3 separate regions of the Homo sapiens genome follow, and regions 1 and 2 are each linked to region 3. Evidence: promoter capture Hi-C in 16 types of primary human blood cells and fetal thymus (Javierre and others, 2016). All regions are on one chromosome and are shown on one strand. The core of a region is centred on a gene start or on the middle of the fragment in contact, and the rest is flanking DNA. Distances in the headings are between cores, read along the strand shown. Region 1 has its middle 56 kb from the start of LINC01714. Region 2 overlaps ERRFI1-DT (ERRFI1 divergent transcript). Region 3 holds the start of SLC45A1 (solute carrier family 45 member 1).

The links. The method cuts DNA at HindIII sites, captures the fragments that hold promoters and counts their contacts. A CHiCAGO score of 5 or more calls a contact.
Region 1: a fragment that was not itself captured here is called in contact with the fragment with the promoter of SLC45A1 in region 3 in 5 of 17 cell types (total CD8 T cells, naive CD4 T cells, naive CD8 T cells and 2 more); the score reaches 8.7 in total CD8 T cells.
Region 2: a contact is called between a fragment that was not itself captured here and the fragment with the promoter of SLC45A1 in region 3, in 9 of 17 cell types (total CD8 T cells, total CD4 T cells, naive CD4 T cells and 6 more). The highest score is 10.1, in total CD8 T cells.

What each region holds. Positions count from the first base shown.
Region 1 is chr1:8,150,455-8,155,342 of GRCh38, reverse strand. No RefSeq gene overlaps it. Among named protein-coding and RNA genes, the nearest start is that of LINC01714, 56 kb to the left of the region's middle. The HindIII fragment of the contact is 7,766 bases long and covers 1-4,888 here.
Region 2 is chr1:8,108,599-8,113,338 of GRCh38, reverse strand. All of the region lies in intron 2 of ERRFI1-DT (ERRFI1 divergent transcript), which reads right to left. Among named protein-coding and RNA genes, the nearest start is that of ERRFI1-DT, 84 kb to the right of the region's middle. The HindIII fragment of the contact is 151 bases long and covers 2,990-3,140 here.
Region 3 is chr1:8,315,798-8,320,575 of GRCh38, reverse strand. SLC45A1 (solute carrier family 45 member 1) reads right to left here and starts at 2,462. Exons shown (of 9, transcript NM_001080397.3): 1 at 2,390-2,462. RefSeq lists a silencer at 2,353-2,632. The HindIII fragment of the contact is 5,366 bases long and covers 1-4,757 here.

The DNA of each region.
Region 1 (4,888 bases), core at 928-3,427, 160 kb after region 3:
TTTTTAAACTTATTATTATTTCAAAAACATTTCTAGTTTTCAATAAATATATATGCATCTTTTCAAATTTCTGACTGTATATATAGCCTACAGCTTTCCTTTAAAAAAAATCTTCTTCCAAGATATAGTACAAAGAAATGGCTTCCTTCTTCATCTAAGAAAAGATTTTCGAAATCTAGATCTCAAAGAGCAAAAAGATCATCACATTCATTTTTATTTTTAGATAAAAATGCAATATATATTTTCACTTCTGACAACAGAATTATCTAGGATTTCACATGAACTTAGGTTTCATAAGATGTCACTTGTGTTTATCCGCTGCGCTTTGCCCGGGGCTGTCTGCCTTAAGATAGAGTGAGCTGCTCCAATAATAACTCCCTGAACACCTGAACACTGAGTCCATGGTGTAGACAGTCCTGTGAGCGCTACCTTAGCTGCCGCGGAGGCGCCGGCAAAAGCAGCTGCTCATCCGTCATTCCTGACAGCTCAGACCACGAGCTGCCTGGAGAGGCTCATGAACAAGTTCTTTGTCTTCAGGGGATGAAGAAAGTCCAGGCGTTTGTTTACTCTAGAGCTACCGGTCAGAAAGGGGTTTCAGCCTCGGAGTCTGCAACCTTTGTATAAAAGAACACAAAGTCAGTGATGGAAAATTAAGCTCTTTAGAAGGCTGATTTGGCTGGGCGCGGTGGCTTACACCTGTAAATCTGGCACTTTGGGAGACTGAGGCAGGAGGATCACTTGGGCCCAGGAGTTTGAGACCAGCCTGAGCAACATGGCAAAGCCCTGTCTCCACAAAAAATAAAAAATAAAAAATAAAAAAATAGCGGGGCAATGGTGTTGGGCACCTATAGTCCCAGCTACTCGGGAGGCTGAGGCAGGAGAATTGCTTGAGTCCAGGAGGTTGATGCTGCAGTAGTGAGCCATGATCGCACCACTGCACTCCAGCCCAGGGAATTGTGTGAGACTCTGTCTAAAAAAAAAAGGAAAGAAAAAGAAAAAAGAAGGCTGATTAATTAGCCTTAAACTCAGCTAAACTAGCGTCATCTTTACCACCCCTTAGCTGCAAAAAATGTTTCAAACCAAATGGCCCCCAGTGAGTGCACTCCTCAACCAGGCAAATAAAGGCACCCACCCACCCATCAGCCCAGGCCACAGAGCGCAAAGGCCGGGGACTTAGCAGCAGGAATCTGCTGGCACAACTGTCGCCATGGGCCTCTATCCGCTCTGGACACCCAGCACCTAGGCCAAGGCCAAGTGTTACAAGATTTGCCTTTTCCACTGAAGTGCAGAACGCTTTCCTGGTGGTTGTTTTGGGTGGCGGGGGGAGGGTGTTGAGAGGGTCAGGGGATCAGAATTTCCTGGTCCTTTTAACTATAAAAGATCTATAATGTTGTACATGTCTCTCTGCTTCTAGTTCAGCTAGCGTCATGCGAAATGGGGCTTTCTGCGTGACTGCACAAAAACCAGCAAGTCCAAACAGGAGGTGTCTTCCCAAGAGGTAGGCAGGTTGTGTGAGCAGGAGGGCCACCGTGAGAGGTGAATCCAGCTGGGCTTCTGGGTCAGGTGGGGGGACTTGGATAACTTTTCTGTCTAGCTAAAGGATTGTAAACACACCAATCAGAGCTCTGCGTCTGGCTAAAGGTTTGTAAACACACCAATCAGCACTCTGTAAAAACGCACCAGTCAGCGCTCTGTGTCTAGCTAAAGGTTTGTAAATGCACCAATCAGCACTCAGTAAAAACGGACCAATCAGCACTCTGTAAAATGGACCAATCAGTGCTCTGAAAAGTGGACCAATCAGCAGGATGTGGGTGGGACCAAATAAGGGAATAAAAGCTGGCCACCTGAGCCAGCAGCGGTAATCTCCGCCAGTCGTCTTCTAACTGTGGAAGTTTTGTTCTTTTGTTCTTAGCAATAAATTTTACTGCTGCTCAGTCTTTGGGTTTGTGCTACCTTTGTGAGATTAACAGTCACCATGAAGGTCTGCAGCTTCAGTCCTGAAGCCAGCAAGACCACGAATCCACCAGGAGGAACAGAGAACTCCACACACACCACCTTTAAGAGTTGTAACACTCACTGCAAAGGTCTGTGGCTTCACTCATGAAGTCAGTGAGACCACAAACCTACCAGAAGGAAGAAACTCTGAACACATCTCAACATCTGAAGGAACAAACTTCAGACACACCATCTTTAGAACTGTACCACTCACTGTGAGGGTCCGCGGCTTCATTTTTGAAGTCAGCGAGACCAAGAACCAACCAGAAGGAACCAATTCTGGGCACAACTGGGCTCCCGGTTTGTGGACAGCCATGTCATCTCCTCCTTTGGGGTAGTGTCCCCAACATGATGATCCATGCCCCTGATTTGGCCTGACGCAGGGCAGTAATTGTGCACTAGTAGCGGGGTCAGGTATATCAATTAACCGACATCAATGCGAGTCCTAGAGCCAGCTCTGGTGTTTACTAGCCATGTACCCATGAGCAAACCATTGACGTTTGTCGGAGCCTCTTCAACTGTAAAAAAGAGACTCCCTGACTTCAAAGTCCCCTCAATTCTAACGTGTGGTTTCATGGTTTCCTTTGCTAATGTACGAAAAAGAACAAGATGATTATATCTTAAAGTTATAAAATCTATCATAATAAGCACACTACTTATGCAGTGATCTTTGAAAGCAGCCCTTTTTTTTTTTTTTTGAGATGGAGTCTTGCTCTGTCGCCCAGGCTGGAGTGCAGTGGGGTGATCTCGGCTCACTGCAACCTCCACCTTCCGAGTTCAAGTGATTCTCCTGCCTCAGCCTCCAGAGTAGCTGGAGTTAAAGGCACGTGCCACCATGCCTGGCTAATTTTTTTGTATTTTCAGTAGAAACGGGGTCTCACCATGTTGGCCAGGCTGGTCTCGAACACCTGATCTCAAGCCATCCTCCTTCCTTGGCCTCCCAAAATGCTTGGATTACAGGCATAAGCCACCACGCCTAGTCGGAAAGCAGCCCTTTAAGGGAAAAATGAACAAGTCAGGAGTATAGAAGCAGACAAAACACATCTGGCGCAGCCCTGACTCAGCTTTAAAGTTGAGGGGCAAATAGATATTCCTAAAATGAAACCGTAAGCACTGATCCTGAAGAAAGATATCTGCGTCCTCCAATCTGTGTGCAGCACAGAACCATCCTGATGAGCTACAATGTAGCAGCATCAGGCCTTCTTGGGTTTTTAAAACCTGGATTGATACGAAATGGTAATGTGTAGAACTTCTAGTGACAGCCCAGTCGGGCTCATCACCCATTATGCTATTTCTCCATGAGGAATAAAAACTAGCCAAACGCAGTGGCTCACACCTATAATCCCAGCACTTTAGGAGGCCAAGGCAGGAGGATGGATCGCTTGAGCTCAGGAGTTCAAAACCAGCTGGGCAGCATGGTGAAACCCCATCCCTACAAAAAAATACAAAAATTAGCCGGGTGTTGTGGTGGGTGCTACTCAGGCGTGTGAGGTGGAAAGATCGCTTGAGCCTGGGAGGCAGAGATTGCAGTGAGAGGAGATTGTGCCACTGCACTCCAGCCTGGGGGACAGAAAGAGACCCTGTCTCTGAAACAAACAACAGCAACAAACTGGGACAAATTCATCTCAGAGTTGGCCTGTCTCTCCCGGAAAACAGGTCTGTTTTCTTTCCGTAGACAATGTGCCCTATGTAACTCATCCCTCCTTTGATCAGCTCCTCAGAGAATTCAGAATAAAGGTCTGTTTTCACCTCAGTACTTTCACCTAACAAGTTCCTGACTTAAATTGCACTTGTCACTTCATTCTTATTTTAATGTTTTTTCGGTTTTACGAAGGTACTGATTTTTTAAATGGATCTTTTTATTTGGTTGAGCAGTTTTAGGTTTACAGGAACATGGAGCAGAAAACGCAGAGCTCCCGTGTGCCCTTCCTCTCCCCATAGACACTTTCTCCTGCTAGTAACATCTTTTTTTCTTTCTTTTTTTTTTTTGACAGAGTCTCACTCTGTCATCTAGGCTGGAGTGCAGTGGCGTGACCTCAGCTCACCGCAACCTCTGCCTCCCGGGTTCAAGCAATTCTCCTGCCTCAGTCTCCCAGGTAGCTGGGACTACAGGTGCACACCACCAAACCCGGCTAATTTTTGTATTTTTAGTAGAGAGGGGGTTTCACCATGTTGGCCAGGCTGGTCTCCAACTCCTCACCTCAAGTGATCCGCCAACCTCAGCCTCCCAAAGTGCTGGGATTACAGGCATGAGCCACCGCACCCACTTTCATCTTAAATGAAGGTGTACACTCGTTACATTTGCTGAGCCTATACCGATTCCTTACAACTAAGCCCATCATTTACATGAGGATTCTCTCATTGTATTACACATTCTATGGGTTTGATAAATGTATAATGACATGGATCCACCATTATAGTGTTGTACCGAATAATAGTTTCACTGCCCTAAAACTCGCGTGCTCCATCTGGTCATCTCTCCCCTCTCCCTTACTCCCCAGTTCCTGGCAACCACCAATCTTTTTTGCTGTCTTTATCATTTTGCTTTTTCCAGAGTGTCATGTAGTTGAAATCATCCAGGGTATAGCCTTTTCAGACTGGCTCATTCACCTAGCAATATGTTTCGGCTTCCTCCATGTTTTTTTTTGTGGCTTGATAGCTCATTTCTTTTCTTTTTTTTCTTTTTTTTTTTTTTTTCAGTTTTTTTTTGAAAACAGAAACAGGTCCCAGTAGCTGGGACCATAGGCATGCAACACCATGTCTGGCTAACTTTGTTTATTTTATTTTATTTTTTGTAGAGACAGGGGTCTCACTATGTTGCCCAGGCTGGTTTCGAACTCCTGGGCTCAAGTGATCTGCCCACCTCGGCCTCCCGAAGTGCTGGAATTACAGG
Region 2 (4,740 bases), core at 1,816-4,315, 210 kb after region 3:
GAGTGTGTATATTTTCCTTTTACATAATGGAATCCTCTTGTATATAACTATATTATAACCGGCACATTAAAAATTCGGTTTGCTAAATTCAAAACAAAACAGAAACAATTCTTGGGATTTTGATTGGAATGACATTGAATCTGTAGCTTAGCGGGAGGAGAATTGATGTATTTTGGAGGTTATGTCTTCAAAAACATGATCTAATTCTCCATGTATTTAGGTCTTTATGTCTGGCAAGCGTATTGCATAATGTTTTCCATGAAGGTCTCGCTCGTTTCTGATGTGTTTATTCCTAAGTACTATTGCAAATGGCATCGTTTGTTGTTGTTGTTTTGGAGACAGGGTCTCGCTCTGTCGCCCAGCCTGGAGTGCAGTGGTGTGATCACAACTCACTGCAGCCTCTACCACCTGGGCTCAAGCGATCCTCCGACCACAGCCTCCCAAGTAGCTGGGAGCACAGGCATGTGCCATCAAGCCTGGCTAATTTTTAGTATTATTATTTGTAGAGATGGGATCTCACTATGTTGCCCAGGCTGGTCTTGAACTCCTGGGCTCAAGCAATCCTCCCACCTCGGCCTCCCAAAGTGCTGGGATTACAGGAGTGAGCTTGTAATGATGCCATCACGTCTGCTGGCATCATTTTTATTATCTATTTTTCAGTGTTGTTAGTGTGATGATATTATAGAAATGTAATTGATCTTTGCATTTTGATTTTGTATGCAGTAACTTAGCTAAAACACTTTATTAATCCGTCTGTATATTCCTTAGGATTTTCTAAGAAGTCAATCAAATACATCTCTGAATGATTTCTGTTTTATTTCTTTCCAATTCTGTAATTTTCTTCCTTGTCTTGCTGATCTGACAAGCATCTCCATTACTATGTGAACTCAAACTGACAAGACTTGATGTCTTGGAGTTTTTCCTCATTTTCAAGAGAATGTTTGTTTTTTTTGTTTTGTTTTTGTTTTTTCAGACAGAGTCTCACTCTGTCACCCAGGTTGGAGTGCAGTGGCACGATCTCACTGCAAGCTCCGCCTCCCGGGTTGACGCCATTCTCCTGCCTCAGCCTCCCGAGTAGCTGGGACTACAGGAACCCGCCACCACGCCTGGCTAATTTTTTGTATTTTTAGTAGAGACGGGGTTTCACCATGTTAGCCAGGTTGGGTCTTGATCTCCTGACCTCGTGATCTGCCCACCTCGGCCTCACAGAGTGCTGGCATTACAGGCGTGAGCCACTGTGCCTGGCCGAGAGAGAATGTTTTTAACGTTTTACCATAAAGTTTGAGGTTTGCTGTAGTTTTGTTTGTTTTTAAAAATGGTCTTCATTACGTGAAGGATATTCTCTTCTACTTATAGTCGATTAAGTTTTTTAAATTATGGATGAATGTTAAATTTTATAATTTGCTTTTCTACATTGATTAAGACAATCACATGGTTTTTCTCCTTTAATCGACTACTGGTACAGATTACAATCGATTTTCCTGGAATAAACTTTATCTTTCTCATATAGGCATACTATGGAGATATTTTGGGTTGCATTCCAGACCACCTCAATAAAGCAAATATTAAAGTGAGTCACACTAGTTTTTTGGTTTCTCAGTGTATATAAAAGTTTTATTTAAACTATACTGTAGTCTATAAGTGTGCAATAGCATTATGTCTAAAAAATGTACATACCTTAATTAAAAATAAGGCCAGGCATGGTGGCTCACACCTGTAATCCCAGCACTTTGGGATGCCGAGGCGGGTGGATCACCTGAGGTCAGGAGTTCAAGACCAGCCTGGCCAACATGGTGAAATTCCATCTCTACTAAAAATACAAAAATTAGCCGAGTGTGGTACTCAAGCCTGTAGTCCCAGCTACTTGGGAGGTTGAAGCAGGAGGATTGCTTGAATCCGGGAGGCAGAAGGTGCAGTGAGCCAAGATCATGCCACTGCACTCCAGCCTGGGCGATAGAGTGAGACTCCATCTCAAATAATAATAATAATAATTTATTGCTAAAAAACACTAACAGTCATCTGAGCCTTCAGTGAGTCACAATCTTTTTGTTGGCAGAGGGTCTTGCCTCTATGTTGATGGCTGCTGGCTGATCACCATGGTGGTTGCTGAAGGTTGGCATGGCTGTGGCAATTTCTCAAAATGACAATGAAGTTTTTTGCATTGATTAGGACTCTTCCTTTCACGAAAGATTTCTTCGTAGTGTGTGATGCTATATGATAGCATTTTACCCACAGAACTTCTTTCAAAATTGGAGTCAATCCTTTCAAACCTGCTGCTGTTTTATCAGCTAAGTTTAAATAATATTCTAAATCCTCTGTTGTCATTTCAACAGTATTCACAGTATCTTCACCAGAAGTAAATTCCATCTCAAGAAACCACTTTCTTTGCTCATCCACAAGAAGCAACTCTTCATCATTCAAGTTTGATCATGAGATTGTAGCAGTTCAGCCACATCTTCAGGCTCCGCTTCTAATTCGAGTTCTCTTGCTATTTCCACCACATCTGCAGTTACTTCCTCCACTGAAGCCTTGAATGCCTCAAAGTCATTCCAAGGGTTGGAATCCACTTCTTTCAAACTCCTGTTAATGTGGATATTTTGACCTCCTCCCATGAATCACAAACATTTTTAATGGCATCTAGAATGGTAAATATTTTCCAGAAGGTTTTCAATTTACTTTGCCCAGATCCATCAGAGGAATCACTATCTATGTGCAGCCATAGCCTTACAAAACGAATTTCTTACGTAATAAGATTTGAAAGTCAAAATTACTGTATCCATGGGCTGCAGAATGAATGTTGTGTTAGCAAGCATGAAAACAGCATTCATTTCCTTGTACATCTCCAGCAGAGCTCTTGAGTAACCAGGTACATTGTCAATGAGCAGTAATATTGTGAAAGGAATCTTTTTCTCCTGAATAGTAGGTCTCAACAGTGAGCTTAAAATATTTGGTAAGCCATGCTGTAAACAGATGTGTTGTCATCCAAGCTTTGTTGTTTCATTTATAAAGCACAGGCAGAGTAGATTTAGCTTAAGGCTTAAGGGCCATGGGATTTTTGGAATGGCCAAGGAGCACAGACTTCAATCTAAAGTCAACAGCTGTATTCGCTCCTAACAAGAGTTGGCCTGTCCTTTGAAGCTTTGAAGCCAGGTATCGACTTCTCCTCTCTGTCTATGAAAATCCTGGATGACATCGTCTTCCGATAGAAGGCTGTTTCATCTACACTGAAAATCTGTTGTTCAGTGGAGCCACCTTTATCAAGGATCTTAGCTGGATCTTCTGGATAACCTGCGGCAGCTTCCCCATCAGCACTTGCTGCCTCACCTTTGGCTTTTATGCTATGGAGATGGCTTCATTCCTTAGACCTCATGAACCAGCCTCTGCTGGCTTCGAATGTTTCCTCTGCAGCTTTCTCATCTCTCTCAGACTTCACAGGATTGAAAAGAGTTAGGCCGGGCATGGTGGCTCACGCCTGTAATCCCAGCCCTTTGGGAAGCCGAGGTGGGTGGATCACCTGAGGTCAGGGATTCGAGACCAGCCTGGCCAACATGGTGAAACCCCATCTCTACTAAAAATACAAAAATTAGCTGGGTGTGGTGGGGCGCCCCTGTAATCCCAGCTACTCGGGAGGCTGAGAGAGGAGAATCGTGTGAACCCGGAAGGCAGAGGTTGCAGTGAGCCGAGATCACACCACTGCACTCCAGCTTGGGCGACAGAGCAAGCCTCTCTCTCAAAAGAAAAAAAAAAGAGTTAGGGCCCTGCTCTGGATTAGGCATCGGTTTAAGGGAGTGTTGTGCCTGGTTTGATCTTCTATCCAGACCACTAGAACTTTCTCCATATCAGCAATAAGGCTGTTTTGCTTTCTTATCATTCATGTGTTCACTGGAGCGGCACTTGGAATTTCCTTCAGGAGACTTTCCTTTGCACTCACAGTTTGGCTAACTGTTTGGCAGAAGAGACTCAGCTTTTGACCTGTCTCAGCTTTCAATATGCATTCCTCACTAAGCATAATCACTTTCAGCACTTGATCTAAAATATTAGGTTGGTTTGGTGCAAAGGTAATTGCGGGTTTTGCCATTGAAAGTAATAGCAAAACCGGCAACTACCTTTGCACCAACATAGAGATATGCAACTCTTCCTATCACTTGAACACTTAGAATTCATTGTAGGGTTATTAATTGGCATAATTTCAATATTCTTGTGTCTCAGGGAATAGGGGGCCCAAGGAGAGGGAAAGAGACGGGAGGGATGGCCGATCAGTGGAGCAGTCAGAACATTTACCGATCAAGTTTGCGGTCTTATGTGGGCACAGTTCATGATGCCCCAAAACAATCACAACAGCAACATCAAGGACCATTGATCACAGATCACCATAACAGATACAATACATATTAAAAAGTTTGAAGTAGTGTGAGAATTAGCAAAGTGTGACACAGAGACATGAAGTGAGCACACCCCGTTGGAAAATGGTACCAAGAGACATGCTCAACGCAGGGTTGCCACAAAACTTTAATTTGTAGAAAGTATAGCATCAGTGAAGTGCAAGAGAGTGAACCACAATAAAACAGGGTGGGCCTGCACCTTCCTTGATTCTGCTGGCAAATATGTTGCTTAGGATTTTTACAGCTATGTTCGTGAGTGAAATTGATCAGGAATTCTCCTTTCTTGTACCATTCTTGCCTGCTTTTTTAGTTTTGTGCTTATACAAATTGATTTGGGTCTCAATTCATTAGGGAGTCT
Region 3 (4,778 bases), core at 1,213-3,712:
CCTCCCTGGGCTCAGGTGATCCTCTCACCTCAGCCTCCCAAATAGCTGGAACTACAGGTGCACACCACCACACCAGGCTAATTCTTGTATTTTTTTGTAGAGATGGGGTTTCGCCATGTTGCCCAGGCTGGCCTCAAACTCCTGGGCTCAAGTGATCCACCTGCCTTGGCTTCCCAAAGTGTTGGAATTACAGGCATGAGCCACCATTCCCAGCCCCTGAAGTGTCTTTTTGAAAAGAGGAGCCTCTTTGACCTTATTTAAAGTGGACTATGTAGACGGCCCACTTCTCTACCTGCAAGAGGACAACTCTACTGCCACCTCCGCCACACCCCACTGCAGCCTGTCCTAGCAGAAGGGAGATCCTCACACACTCAATGAACTTCTCTCTAGCATCTGAACCAGAATTAAACCTAGCTTAATCCTGGCTCAGAAGAAGTCTTTACTAAGGATTCATCTTCAAATCTGGGGATCAGCATTACCATTTTTATTAAAACTACATTTAGTAAAAACTGTTCACAAATGTTTATCATAAGAAGAATTTTAGAAACTCATTTTTGAGACCGGGCACAGTGGCTGACGCCTGTAATGCCAGCACTTTGGGAGGCCGAGGTGGGTGGATCACCTGAGCTCAGGAGTTCGAGACCAGCCTGGCCAACATGGAGAAACCCCGTCTCTACTAAAAATACAAAAAATTAGCTGGGCATGGTGGCGAGTGCCTGTAATCCCAGCTACTCCGGAGGCTGAGGCAGGAGAATCGCTTGAACCCAGGAGGTGGAGGTTGTAGCGAGCTGAGATCGCACCACTGCACTCCAGCCTGGGCAACAGAGTGAGACTCTTGTCTCAAAAAACAACAACAACAACAACAAAAATCCATTTTTAAGGTTCCCATAAAAATGGGTGAAAGTGGAATTTAAGATCATAAAATCTAATTTTCATGCACAAATACAAACATTCGCCAGACCATCTTTACTGTACCATATGACCATTTACTCGGTCAAAAGGAAATCCACTCATCTCCCTGGATCCCCCGAAGGCTATGCAAGGGGTCCACTGTGCTTCCAGAGTACAGAGGATGCTTAAAGTAACAGATTCCTCAAACTGTGTTGTGGGAAGTTTAAGCGGCAAATGATTAATAAAAGTAATCAATGTCAATGTAGTTTGAATGCTTACAATGATCCTACTACGAGCGGAAACCATTTCCTCATTTCTTTCTTCTCGTTATGAAAATGAGCTCCCCCCACGGGGTTGCCTTGGGCCACCTCCCTTCCTAGGGCGTATTTGCTTATTTGTTTATTTGAGACGGAGTCTCACTCTATCGCCCAGACTAGAGTGCAGTGGCATGATCTGGGTTCACTGCAACCTCCGCCTCCTGGGTTCAAGCGATTCTCCTGCCTCAGCTTCCCAAGTAGCTGGGATTACAGGCATGTGCCACCACGCCCGGCTAATTTTGTATTTTTAGTAGAGATGGGGTTTCACCATGTTGGCCAGGCTGGTCTTGAACTCCTGACCTCAGGTGATCCACCCGACTCAGCCTCCCAAAGTGCTGGGATTACAGGCATGAGCCACCGCGCCCGACCCCTCATGCTTCTTTCTACCCATTCTCAAAATTCTTCAGTGAGGTCCTCCAGGACCAGGAAGGTGCTCTACGGACTTGGGAGGGTGCACTTAATAGGCTAGTTACTGAATCGTGGCCGTTTCCCACTTTGCATCTCCGGCAGCTTGACCCCTACTCCAGGGCCAACTTTTCCCAAAAGCCCAGGCCAGGTGCAGCCTGAACGTGGCTTTCCTCCGCCCCTGACTCTGCTTCCCTGTAAGAGCTGAAAAACATGCACGGCTGTCACTCTAGAAATAATTAGAGAAGTTGCTGATTGTCGAGGGCAGAAGGAGCTGAACGGCTTCCACCTCAGCGCGTTCCCCTTGGTGCTGACTCGCTCGGGAAAGGGGAGTCCTCGGTGCCCTCGCTAAGTAACCCTGGGATGCTGAGGGGCGTTGCCAGGCCCCTGGTCAACAAGAGGGCTCAGCCCCACGCAAGAGGTGAGCCGGGAGCGGATGACACCTGCCCAGGTGACTAGGGACCAGGCCTCCGGCTCAAGGAGCGCATCAGGAGCTGGGGCCAAGGCCGGGGTCTCCTCCCCTTGCCAGCAAGGATGAGAGCACCTGCCATCTGGCCGGCACCCTCCCCTGGGCCCGAGGCTCCTGCCCTCGGAGGGGCGAGACGGGGGAGCTCCGTGGACTCTGCAATTCATGAGACTTCCACGAGGAACAAAGGTCTCCGTGCCGGCCTCGGGTCCCGGTCTCGGCGCCCTGACTACCCCGGGGCCCAGGGCGCGGCGCCCCGGCAGGCACGGAGCCAGAGAGCGGGCGGAGGGCGCGGAGGAGACGGTGGTACCTGTGGGTGGAGACGGCAGGCATCCCTGTCCCCGCTGGGCTGCTGCCTGCCCGGCCGCGGTCCCGGCTGCTGCAGCATCACCCGGGGCGGGGCGCTGACGTCACGGCCGCAGCCTCCGCATCCGCGCGGGGCCCGGAGCCTTAAAGCGGCGCCGCGTCTGGGGCCCCGCGGGCGGGAGGGGAGCCCGGTGTCCTCCTGGGCCCTTCCCGCGGGAGGCCCGTCCCGGTGCTTCGCGCACGACGGCGCGGTCTGCAGGATCTGCCAGGATCCCGGAGGAAAACGTCCCCCCGGCCTCACAGTTCTCACCGTTTTCTTCTGATTTTAAAAGAAATAAATACATTTTCGTGTCTTCATGTATAAATAGATACCCATGTGTTCGCGGATACGTGAATGCCGCAGTGCGTGTGCCAAGCCTGTGCCCATGTGCGCAGTGGGGCAGCCGGGCCTGCTGGAGGCGTCGCGACTCTGGGCCCGGAGCTGTCCAAGGCACTGGGGATGCCGCAAGAACAAGGCAAAGTTCCCGCCCCTGGGGGAACTTTGTAATGTAAGTAAATACATAAATACTTTATGTATTTATTATTTACTTCATTTTTTAAAATACAGAGAGGCAGGGCCTTGCTATGTTGCCCAGGCTGGTCTCGACTCCTGGGCTCAAGTGATCCTTCTGCCTCGGCCTCCCAAAGTACAGGTGTGAGCCACCGCACCCGGCTGCATGACATTTAAGAGAGAGACACACACACATTAAACAAGACATAAAATAAATGGTATGTCAGAAGATGGCAATGCCCTAGAGAAGGGGTTAGGGAGTGTGGGGCTGCAGAGGCGCTGGCCTTGCAGGTTTCTATCAGGTTGTTGGCGAGTCCTCACCTGGAAGGTGACACTAGAAGGAGGATTTGCGGAGCAGGCCGGGCACGGTGGCTCACACCTGTAATCCCTGCGCTCTGGGAGGCCGAGAGGGGCAGATCACCTGAGGTCTGGAGTTCGAGACCAGCCTGGCCAACATGGCAAAACCCCCATCTCTACTAAAAATATAAAAATTAGCCACACGTGGTGCTGGGTGCCTGTAATCTCAGCTACTCAGCTGAGGCAGGAGAATCGCTTGAACCTGGGAGGCAGGGGTTGCAGTGAGCTGAGATCGTGCCACTGCACTCCAGCCTGGGCCACAGAGTGAGACTCCATCTCAAAAAGAAAAGAAGGACCTGAGGAGCTAGGGGGGCCAGCCAGACTGACGTGTGGGGAAGGTCACGCCAGGCACTGGGAAGAGCAAGTGCAAAGGCCAGGGGCAGAAGTGAGCTGGGCTGAGTCCAATAATTACGGATGAAATAATTATGCAGCTGGTAGTGGAATAATAACCCCAGGGAAGCGCTGCAGAGTGGGGGCACGGGGCCCTGTGGAAGTTTACCGCGGCGGATTCCACCCCATTGGGAGGGTCGAGGGCTCCTCAAGGAGCCCTACCAGGCCAAGTAGAGAGAACAGCATGTCCCACACAGAGGGCTCAGAGAGCTCTGCACTGGCAGAGCTCCGGAGGGGAGAGGGCCTGGAGGCACACTGCAAAGGAAGTGGAGGGGGACAGGGATGCAGAGGCCTGGGAAGGAGGTGAGGGCTGGGGAGGTGGGACAGGCCCAGGTGTGGCCTCTTAGGCAGTTGCCAGTTTCTAAGAGCAAAGAGAAGCCTAGAAAGGTTTTATGTAGGGGAGTGGATGGCATGAATCCTATTCACAGTTAGCAAAGATCATAAAGCTCAGAGTGAAAACAGATTGGAGGGAACCAGGGGACCACATGGGCGTACCGGGTGGCACAGGTGGGAGAGTTGGGGGTGTTGGTAGAGGGAGAGAGGTGATGGACTGGCCGGGGACTTAGGACTCCATGATTGACTGAAGGTGGGGGGGTACAGGAACAGCGAGGGTGGTGCTAAGAAGTTTCTAGCTTGAGCGATGAGGGAAGAGAGTGGATTCATGGAGGCCAAAGCAGGTGTGTGCTGGAGTGAATGCCATAGGTTTGCTTTGGGATATGCTGAGCTTGAGGGCCTTCGCAGCCTCTAGGCCACCAGACACTTGGGTCTGGAGCTCAAAGATGCTCCTTTATGAGTCCCCTGCACATGGGAGCTAATTGCAGGTGAACTGTGGACCTCGCACTGCCAGGGAGAGGCGCAGGGCAGAGGGCCCCAGAGGACACCATGGGAATTTCAACAGATCCTGCCCAGGCTGAAGAGAAGGAGCCACTGGAGGGGGCTGGTTCTGGCTTCTTTTATCTCTATAACAGGGTAACAGCTTGAAAAAAATACCGATGTCCTTTTCTATTTTGCATGCAAGTGGCCTGCCATCAACTGATGAGCTTCAGCACCTCAGGGACTTAATGCAATAGAAGCTTACTTCCACATGAGGTTGGCA